Regions from separate parts of the Homo sapiens genome. Here region 2 is linked to region 1. The links are contacts of gene promoters, found by promoter capture Hi-C in human tissues and cell types (Jung and others, 2019). All regions are on one chromosome and are shown on one strand. Each heading gives the region's core, a stretch centred on a gene start or on the middle of the fragment in contact. The rest is flanking DNA. Distances are from core to core; before and after follow the strand shown.

Region 1 (3,743 bases), core at 187-2,686:
AAAAACAGGCTTGGGTACTCCAGGTAAGGGAGAAGAGAGGGGGATGTTGGGATAGGCACCACCACTACTAAACCGTCTGTACGCAGGAGGTCCAAACCTAAAACAGAGAAAGCGGCCCAGTTACAACAGGCTTGAGACAACAAACCTGTGATGACCTGTTAGGTGCGGTTAGTTATGTTTTGTCTGGGTTAAAAGTGAGCATCTGCCTTTCTACAGGACTTATTTCTACAGACTTTGGAAGACAAAGCAGAGGCTGACAACAAAGGCTCAGCCACGGGACCTGGAGCAAGCTGGTTCCGTCCTTTGGGTCTTAGTTGCTATCTCTGTAAAAACAGGGCTTATTAACAGTAACTCACTCTAAGTGCAGTTTGTACACATAAAGCACTTAACAGCTCTGCCCTCCAACAGCACCACCGAAGTCTTGGATAAAAGCCATATCCCTTATTAACCTGGTCCGAAGGCGGGGTGTGACTTGGCCTCTGTCTCCCTCTCCAAACTCATCTCTTGAACCCCCACACTCCCATAGGTCCTGGTCACACTGATTCTTGTCAATTCCTGGAACACATTTGACTCATCAACCCCAAAGCTTCTTCACCGTTCCAGGGCTTGCCCTTTGCCCATGCCTACCCCTTCTTTCATTCTTCAGCTCTTCCCTTAAATGTCACCCTGATGGAGGACTATCCCTCACCAGTCTAGTCTTTCCTGCTATTTTCTATCATGAAAGGCTGCTTGTTTACTCCAAAGCATTTACGCGACTGCCGATATTTTGTTTACGCTCCAGCCTGTATCCATCTCCTGGAGGCAGCACCTCCGCACCCCTGAAACGGCGCTCGTTGTGTGGGGAGGGGCGACGCCTGTGCTGTCGGAACAAAGTTCCAGCGTGGGGAAAGGCAGGCCCGGTCACTTGGGTGGGAGGAGCGGTGGGTACGGAAAGGGTTCTTAAACGTCAGAGATCAACGGACAGACCGCAGCAACCGAGAGCCTGGACCCTGGTGTCAGAACCCTGCGGGTCTAACAGAGCTGGGCCCCCACCGGCTCAGCCTCCTGAAGGAGCACGCGGTAGGTGAAGCGCGGGGGCAAATATGAGGCATGGCCTCGGAGAAGGCCCGTCGACCCGGGAAGTGAGGGGGGGAGAGGACCCAGCAGCCGGGGAGAGGAGAGACAGATGGGACTGCGTCCCCGGGCTCGAGGCGCAAAGCAAGGCAGGGCCCCCGTCGCCTCGGGGACACCAGTGTCCCGAAGTGCGAGCCCGTCCCACGGGCGCCATGTCACCTGTAGAAACCGAAGACGGAGCGTCCAGAAAGACTCGAGCCGCCCCCGCCCCAGGCCGAAGCCTGGTTCGCCTTTGGCTCACCTCAGCCGCGAACAGCCCCAAGAACCCGAGCCCCGCAGCAACCGCGTCGCCGCCAGCACCACAGCCGCCATCTTGCGTCTCCGCCCCGCTTCAGTCGTCACTTCCGCTTCCGCCCACGGCTTCCCCTCCCCCTCGCCGACGGCCCAAGGCGTTCAGGCACGCGCTTTCGGTGCTCGGAGCGGAAGCAGCGGCGAGAGGCTCGGAGGCGCGGGGGCGGCCGAGCGGCGGGCGACGGGGGCGGGCGACGGGGGCGGGCGACGCGGGCCGCGGCACGGGCGGAGCCGGGGCCATGGAGCCGCCGCTGCCGGGCTAGGCAGGTCGTGCCCCGCCGGGCCGGCGGCGATGTCGGGCTACCAGCGCCGCCCGGGCGCCACCCCGCTGTCCCGAGCCCGGAGCCTCGCCATTCCCGACGGTGAGCGGGGCAGGGGCCGAGTCCAGCGGTCCAGGTGGGCGGCGGCCGCCCCGGCACGCAGTAAAGTCGCTGTTGTCGTTGCTTCCAGCTCCAGCGTTCTATGAGCGCCGGTCTTGTCTCCCCCAGCTAAATTGTGAGCGCCCCCATGGCAGGGACCTGGACTCCCCCTTCTTCGGCATTCGGCCGGCCTTTATGTGCTATGTGCCCAGCCCGGTGCTGGCTTCCGTGGGAGACACAGGTGAGAGACGAGGGCGCCGGCCCCGGGGACGCTTCCAGTTCCCGCGCCACGTGTGGCACCTCCGCTGCAGCACGAGCTCGTCCATTGACCCATCAATGTGCAGAGCGCTCACTGCGTGCCAGGCACTCGGAATTCAAAGGCGGAGTCCCCTGCTAGGAGCTCACAGTCTGGTTGCGGGGAGACCTCCCCCAAGACAGACAGTTCCAGTACAGGATGGTTAGTGCCCGGGGAGCACAGGAGCCCGCCCGCTTTCCTCGTGGGGCTGGAGTCGGGGTGCCTTCACCTAGTGGGCAGTGATTGGAAACCGAGCTGGAGCATTCCATCTGCCTCCACAGCCGGGCAGTGGCCAGATCTGGTTCGTCCTCGTTCTACCCAAGCAGAAGTGCTGCTGGGTGCCCGGGGTGTGCAGGAGTGTTTGTGTGGTTATGCCAGGATCTGAGGACATTCGGGGGTTGTCACAAGACAAGAGGACGCGCTTGCCCCGGCTGGGCTTCAAAATCTGCTGAGGAGCCGCTTTCAGACCACGGACACCAGGGCCAGTCTGCAAGTCAGGCCATCTCCAGGGTCACAAGTCTGGGAGCTTGTGTTTTTTTTAAAGTTTTCTCGGCTGACCGGGCGCAGTGGCTTACGCCTGTAATCCCAGCACTTTGGGAGGCCGAGGCAGGCGGATCATGAGGTCAGGAGATTGAGACCATCCTGGCTAACAGGGTGAAAACCCGTCTCTACAAAAAATACAAAAAAATTAGCCGGGCGTGGTGGCAGGTGCCTGTAGTCCCAGCTACTCGGGAGGATGAGGCAGGAGAATGGCGTGAACCCAGGAGGCGGAGCTTGCAGGGAGCCGAGATCGCACCACTGCACTCCAGCTTGGGCGACAGAGCAAGACTCCGTCTCAAAAAAAAAAAAAAAGTTCTCTAGACTGTGAGAACCACTGCAGTGGAGACTCCATGTGCAAAAGAAAAAAACCAAATGTGAGGTCATAAAGACTTCCTGCCAGCATGGTGGGTGACATTGTTTCTTTGCAGATTTTGGCTATGGAAAGGGGAAATGTTCTAAGCAGAGCCCGTCAGGAGCCCACGGGACACATTTTGGAGGTAGAGTAGTTCAGCAACCTTTTCTTCTTGTCTCCATCCAACACAGTGCCAGGCACGTGTCTGGTGGGACTGTCAATGTGACTGGCTATGTGGTGTAGCTGGAGCCCAAAAGAGCAGGTGGGGGTGGGATTTCAAGGGTTCAGTCTTGATCCTAGAGTAGCAGCGAGGTGACATCAGGGAGCGGGGAAGCCCCACCTGGGGGGCTGGGGCCACAGGAGCCAGCTTTACATGGGGCTCACAGCTGGGAGGGTCGAGTGTGGCTGCTTAAGTCCCCGGAGGGTGGGAAGGCGGTGGCAAGAGGGAGAAGGGAAAAGTGGGCGTTATTTAGGCTACCTAGGTAGGAAAGTCGGGAAGAGGGTCAGGGGGCACTGGGTCCCCAGCGTTGCAGCACCTGAGGAGCTGGTTGTTGTTGTTGTTTTTTGAGACAGAGTCTCGCTCTGTCGCCCAGGCTGGAGTACAGTGGCACGATCTCGGCTCACTGCAAGCTCCACCTCCCAGGTTCACGCCATTCTCCTGCCTCAGCCTCCCGAGTAGCTGGGACTACAGGCGCTCACCACCACGCCTGGCTAATTTTTTGTATTTTTAGTAGAGATGAGGTTTCACCGTGTTAGCCAGGATGGTCTCAGTCTCCTGACCTCGTGATCCGCC
Region 2 (4,142 bases), core at 952-3,451, 320 kb after region 1:
CACCTGTGATCCCAGCACTTCGGGAGGTTGAGGCAGGTGGATCACCTGAGGTCAGGAGTTCAAGACCAGCCTGCCTAACATGGTGAAACCCCGTCTCTACTAAAAATACAAAAATTAGCTGGGCGTGGTGGCACGTGCCGATAATGCCAGCTACTCGGGAGGCTGAGGCAGGAGAATCGCTTGAACCCGGGAGGCAGAGGTTACAGTGAGCTGAGATCGCGCCACTGCACCCCAGCCTGGGCAACAGTGTGAGACTCGGACTCAAAAAAAAAAAAAAAAAAAGGAATAAACAGAGCTCACCTCATGGTACTGTTGTGAACGTTAAATGCGGTAAGGTGTACATACTCAGTAGCACGGGCCTGGAATTCAGTAGGGATGCAGGGTTTGCTTTAAAAGGTGCAAATATATGTTGGTGTACATACGTATAGGCACACAGAAATTGGGGAATTGATTTCTGCTTATCCGCTATCTTCTAAACACTTTTCAATGCTTTCCAAATATCCTTCACTAAGGAAGAATGTCTTTAATATTTAGAAAATAAAAGTGATTAAAACAATCATTCCCATCCCTGGAGGGCCACGGGTCCTAGTGGGTAGCCCCTTGAGGCCTGCCCCAGGGCTGGAAGCAGCTCCAGGCATCTGTCTCTGGGATTCACGATTCTCAGGGGCTTGGGGTAGCTATGCTCACTGAGAGATCCTGCAGAGATTGTAAAGTCAGGCCTAGGAAGCACCAGAACCCTGAGGCTGCTGAGCTCATGCCCTGGGTGTAGGAGGCACTCAGAACCCTCCTACCCCACCTCCTTCCCACAGTAGACTGCGGGGCGGGTTTGGAAGTGGCAGTGGTGGGGGGAGGGGGGTTGGGGTGTGGGACCTGGGACTGCATTTAGGTCTAGATGGGACTCTGTGGGGAGAGCCCAGAGTCCCTGCGGGGTTCCATACTCACCCCCATACAAGGCAAGCCAGGGAGTGAAGTGTGTGTGTGTGTGTGTGTGTGTGTTCTGGACGCAGAGCTGAATAGAACCTAAAGTTGGGGTCAAGGGCCAGTCTGTGGCCAAGATCAAGGGCCTAGCTTGAGGTTGGGGTGACAAGAACCTGGCCAAGCTTCTGATGATTTGTCCAGGGAATGACCTTGGCTGACTGTGCCAGAAGGGCTGTAGCCCCAGGTTTCTGATCCCCAGAGCCCCAAAGGCGTTCTCTGGGATGCTGGTGGCCATCTCCTTCTCAACCCTTCTCCCAGCGCCCTCGCTCGGGACCACTGAGGCGGTATCACTCCATTCTCCTGCAAGGACCCTTGAGCGTGCTGTGGGAGTGAGGCTGGCTTAGCCTCTGAGGACCACTGCAGCCTGTCCTGACCTCAGGCCCCAGGTTAGGGGGCAGCTGAGGAGGGGTCTCTGGGTCTTTCCGGGTGTGTGGCCGTTTTATTTCCGTGCCCTTGTTTTAAAACTGCACCTCTGTCCTCAGGAGCGTGGCCTTGGGCAGATGGAGAGCTGCGTGGCCGGTGCCGGAATGACTGTCAACGCCCCAGTGCGCCCGGATCACACCAGGCCTGAAGGCAGCGCCAGGCCCAGTCCAGGCAGCTTGCAGTTCCCGGGCCGCAGGGACGGGCGCCGGAGCCCCGCAGACGTTCGCCCAAGGGCGCTCCCGTATCCTCGTCTTTCACGGCCCGCCTGAGCGTCCAGGGCGGCTGCGGATGCGCGCACTTCCCCCGCCCGGATCCCGGAGGCTGCACCGTGCGGACGCGACTGCCGCGGGCAGGGCGCGCGCCGGGGGCGGGGTAGGGGGGCCCGGGGGCTCTCCCGGGCTTAGCGAGTCCGGCCGAGGCCGGGGCCCGGGGAGGGCGGAGGGCGGCGCTCCAGGTCCTTTCCCGACCCGGCCGCCGAGCTCCGTCCTCTGCGCCGCGGCGTCCGGCTCCCGCCGGGTGTCCCGCGCAGGGTCGACCGCCGGCAGCTCCGGAAGGAGGACGCGCGAGGGGCGAGGAGCTGCCGCCTCCCCTCCCCAGCGCTCGGGGTTCCCCACGCCCCGCCGGCCCCCACTGGGGACCCTCCCGGCCCCCGGACCCCAGCCCCGACCCCGGGAGCCCACCTGGCTGCCAGTGCGCGCGCGCGCGCGGCCGGCGCGCTGTCCCTTTAACGGCCCGCGGGCACCTCCCCCGCCGCCGCCCCGCCCCCGCCGCGGTGCGGCCGCCGGTGCTGGGCGAGGTCGGAGAAAGTCCATGGGAGCCGGAGCGCCGGGACGCCAAGCACTTCCTGCCGCGGGCGGCGCGCCGCAGCTGCCCAGGCCGGACCGGGCCGGGCGCCCGCAGGTACCGCCAACTTGGCGCGCGCGGCCGCCCCCGGGTTACGCCGCCGGGCGGGGTCGTCCCACGGGCCGGGCCCGCACTTCCCGCAAACTCCGCGGCCGCCCAACTTGGCGCGAGCCCCCTGCCGCAGTGCCGGCCGCGCGGGGCGGGTGCGGCCGAGTTCCGCGCCGGCCCGGGCGTGCGCGCGGGAACCGGCCTCGGGAGCCCGCGGAGGGGGGCCGGGCGGGGCCGGGGGGTCCCGGCGGAGGCGCCCGCGACCCCGGGCCGGGACGCCGCGCCGCGCGTTCGGGGAGACCCCGGCTCCGGGCGTCCCGGGGCGCTCCCCGCCGCCTGCTGGGTTTCCCTGGATTTCTGGGGACCCGCGCGGCCTCCCCAGGGACCCGACTGGCCGATCCAGCCCTCCGGGTGGGGAAGCCGGGGCAGGACTGGCCCGGGGCCAGGGCGGAGGTACCCACCCCTCCCGGCGCATCTGCGCAGCTGCCTGGCCCAGCCGGGCCCGCGCCTCGCCCTCCCGGTCCAGGTGGGCCCGTTCGTGGGTCGTCACCGCCTCCCGCGCCTCCCCCACTCGGGCCCCAGCCTGGGGAGAAACTGGGGTCCGGCCGCAGGGGGAGGGGGCTCTGCCTCTTGCCAGCTTCTGTGCCTCTGCGGAGCTGAGGTCGGGGGGCCCCAGCTCCTTCTCTAAGAAACTCAGCGGAGCCCGGGGCCCGCCGCGCACCCCGCACGGCCAGGGCGGACCGAGGCCTTCCGACGGAGTTTCCTGCTTCTCTTGCTGGGATCGTGTGGGGTCGGAGGTCAGAGGTCACCTCCCAGCCCCTCTGCCAGGCTCTGGGGGAAGTTTGGTCTTGGACTCTCGTCGTGGAGCCGCTTAAACCTGTGGGTCTGAAGGCCGCGAGGCCGGGTCCCTGGAGTTGGCCTCCCAGGCCGTTCCACTCCCTCCCCCAACCCCCGCGCGGGGCCTCCGGATTGGAGGTGTTTCACCCACGTGCTGGTGGGCCCGTCTCCCTGGGCCGCTGGGTGCCCTGAGCTGTGTTCTCTGCTGCGCGTTCCTTCCTGTGTGTGGCGGGGGTGCTGACCCGGGGGTGCCCAAGGCAGCCCGGACTCCCATCCCGTGGAGCTGCCTCCGGGAGCGCGTGCACCTTGGTGTTCCCGCCCGCCAGCGCGGCCGCACTCTCCTGCCAGAGTCCGTGTCCCTCCAGGTCGCCCCTTCTTCTCACCCACCCCTCTTTTCGTCTGGCAGGCTCCTGACCTCCTTCCCTCCTGTTCTCCAGTGGGACACTCAGCTCAGCATTCTGCAGGGTGTTTTAGCCTGTAGCACCCCCCAGCAGGGGCGCCTAGAGTTAGGTCAGGGTTCAGGCAGCCCCCGCCCCACCCGCCACCTCTCAGCCACCCACCCCTTCTTCTCCCGGCCACCGTTGGAGCACCCCTCTGGTCCTCTGTGGGGCCTTTCCCAGCCCCTCCCTTAAAGAGGCCTCTTGGCGTTTTCCCCTGGGGTCACTGTTGGGTGGTAGCTGGGCCAGAGTCCAAGGGGAGGAAATAAAAGGAGCTGCCACCCAAGGTGGTGGCCCCCTGTCCTTTCGGCAAAGCCACTTGGAATGGGCACAGAGAGTGGAACAAGATATCACTTGTCACTTCTTAGTGGCCAGGGATCCTTTCGCAGTGGTCACACCCAGGGCTCGATGGTGCTGGCCCTGGCCTGGCGGGAAGGCGGGGAGGAGCCACCCGGGAGATCTCCTGCTGGGAGCAGTGGGAGCTGGGCTGCTACAGGCTGCGAGAACAGGCTCTGTTCTTTACCACCGGCTGCTGGAAGGGTTCGCAGGGCTGCTCTGCCCTGGGCAGGGGGCTAG

What was found. The method cuts DNA at HindIII sites, captures the fragments that hold promoters and counts their contacts. A contact is called where the count stands out against the background at its distance.
Region 2: the fragment with the promoter of NACC2 here is called in contact with the fragment with the promoter of PMPCA in region 1 in 1 of the 25 tissues and cell types used here (heart right ventricle).

What each region holds. Positions count from the first base shown.
Region 1 is chr9:136,408,351-136,412,093 of GRCh38, reverse strand. PMPCA (peptidase, mitochondrial processing subunit alpha) reads right to left here and starts at 1,436. Exons shown (of 13, transcript NM_015160.3): 1 at 1,355-1,436; 2 at 1-97. The coding sequence starts at 1,425. It overlaps ENTR1 (endosome associated trafficking regulator 1), which reads left to right and starts at 1,480. Exons shown (of 10, transcript NM_001039707.2): 1 at 1,480-1,766; 2 at 1,855-2,004; 3 at 3,027-3,095. The coding sequence starts at 1,697. RefSeq lists enhancers at 1,198-1,247, 1,278-1,367, 2,218-2,377 and silencers at 1,578-1,667, 1,808-1,857. The HindIII fragment of the contact is 13,229 bases long and covers 1-3,743 here.
Region 2 is chr9:136,093,348-136,097,489 of GRCh38, reverse strand. NACC2 (NACC family member 2) reads left to right here and starts at 2,201. Exons shown (of 6, transcript NM_144653.5): 1 at 2,201-2,301. RefSeq lists silencers at 1,739-1,838, 2,159-2,288 and an enhancer at 3,494-4,142. The HindIII fragment of the contact is 19,137 bases long and covers 1-4,142 here.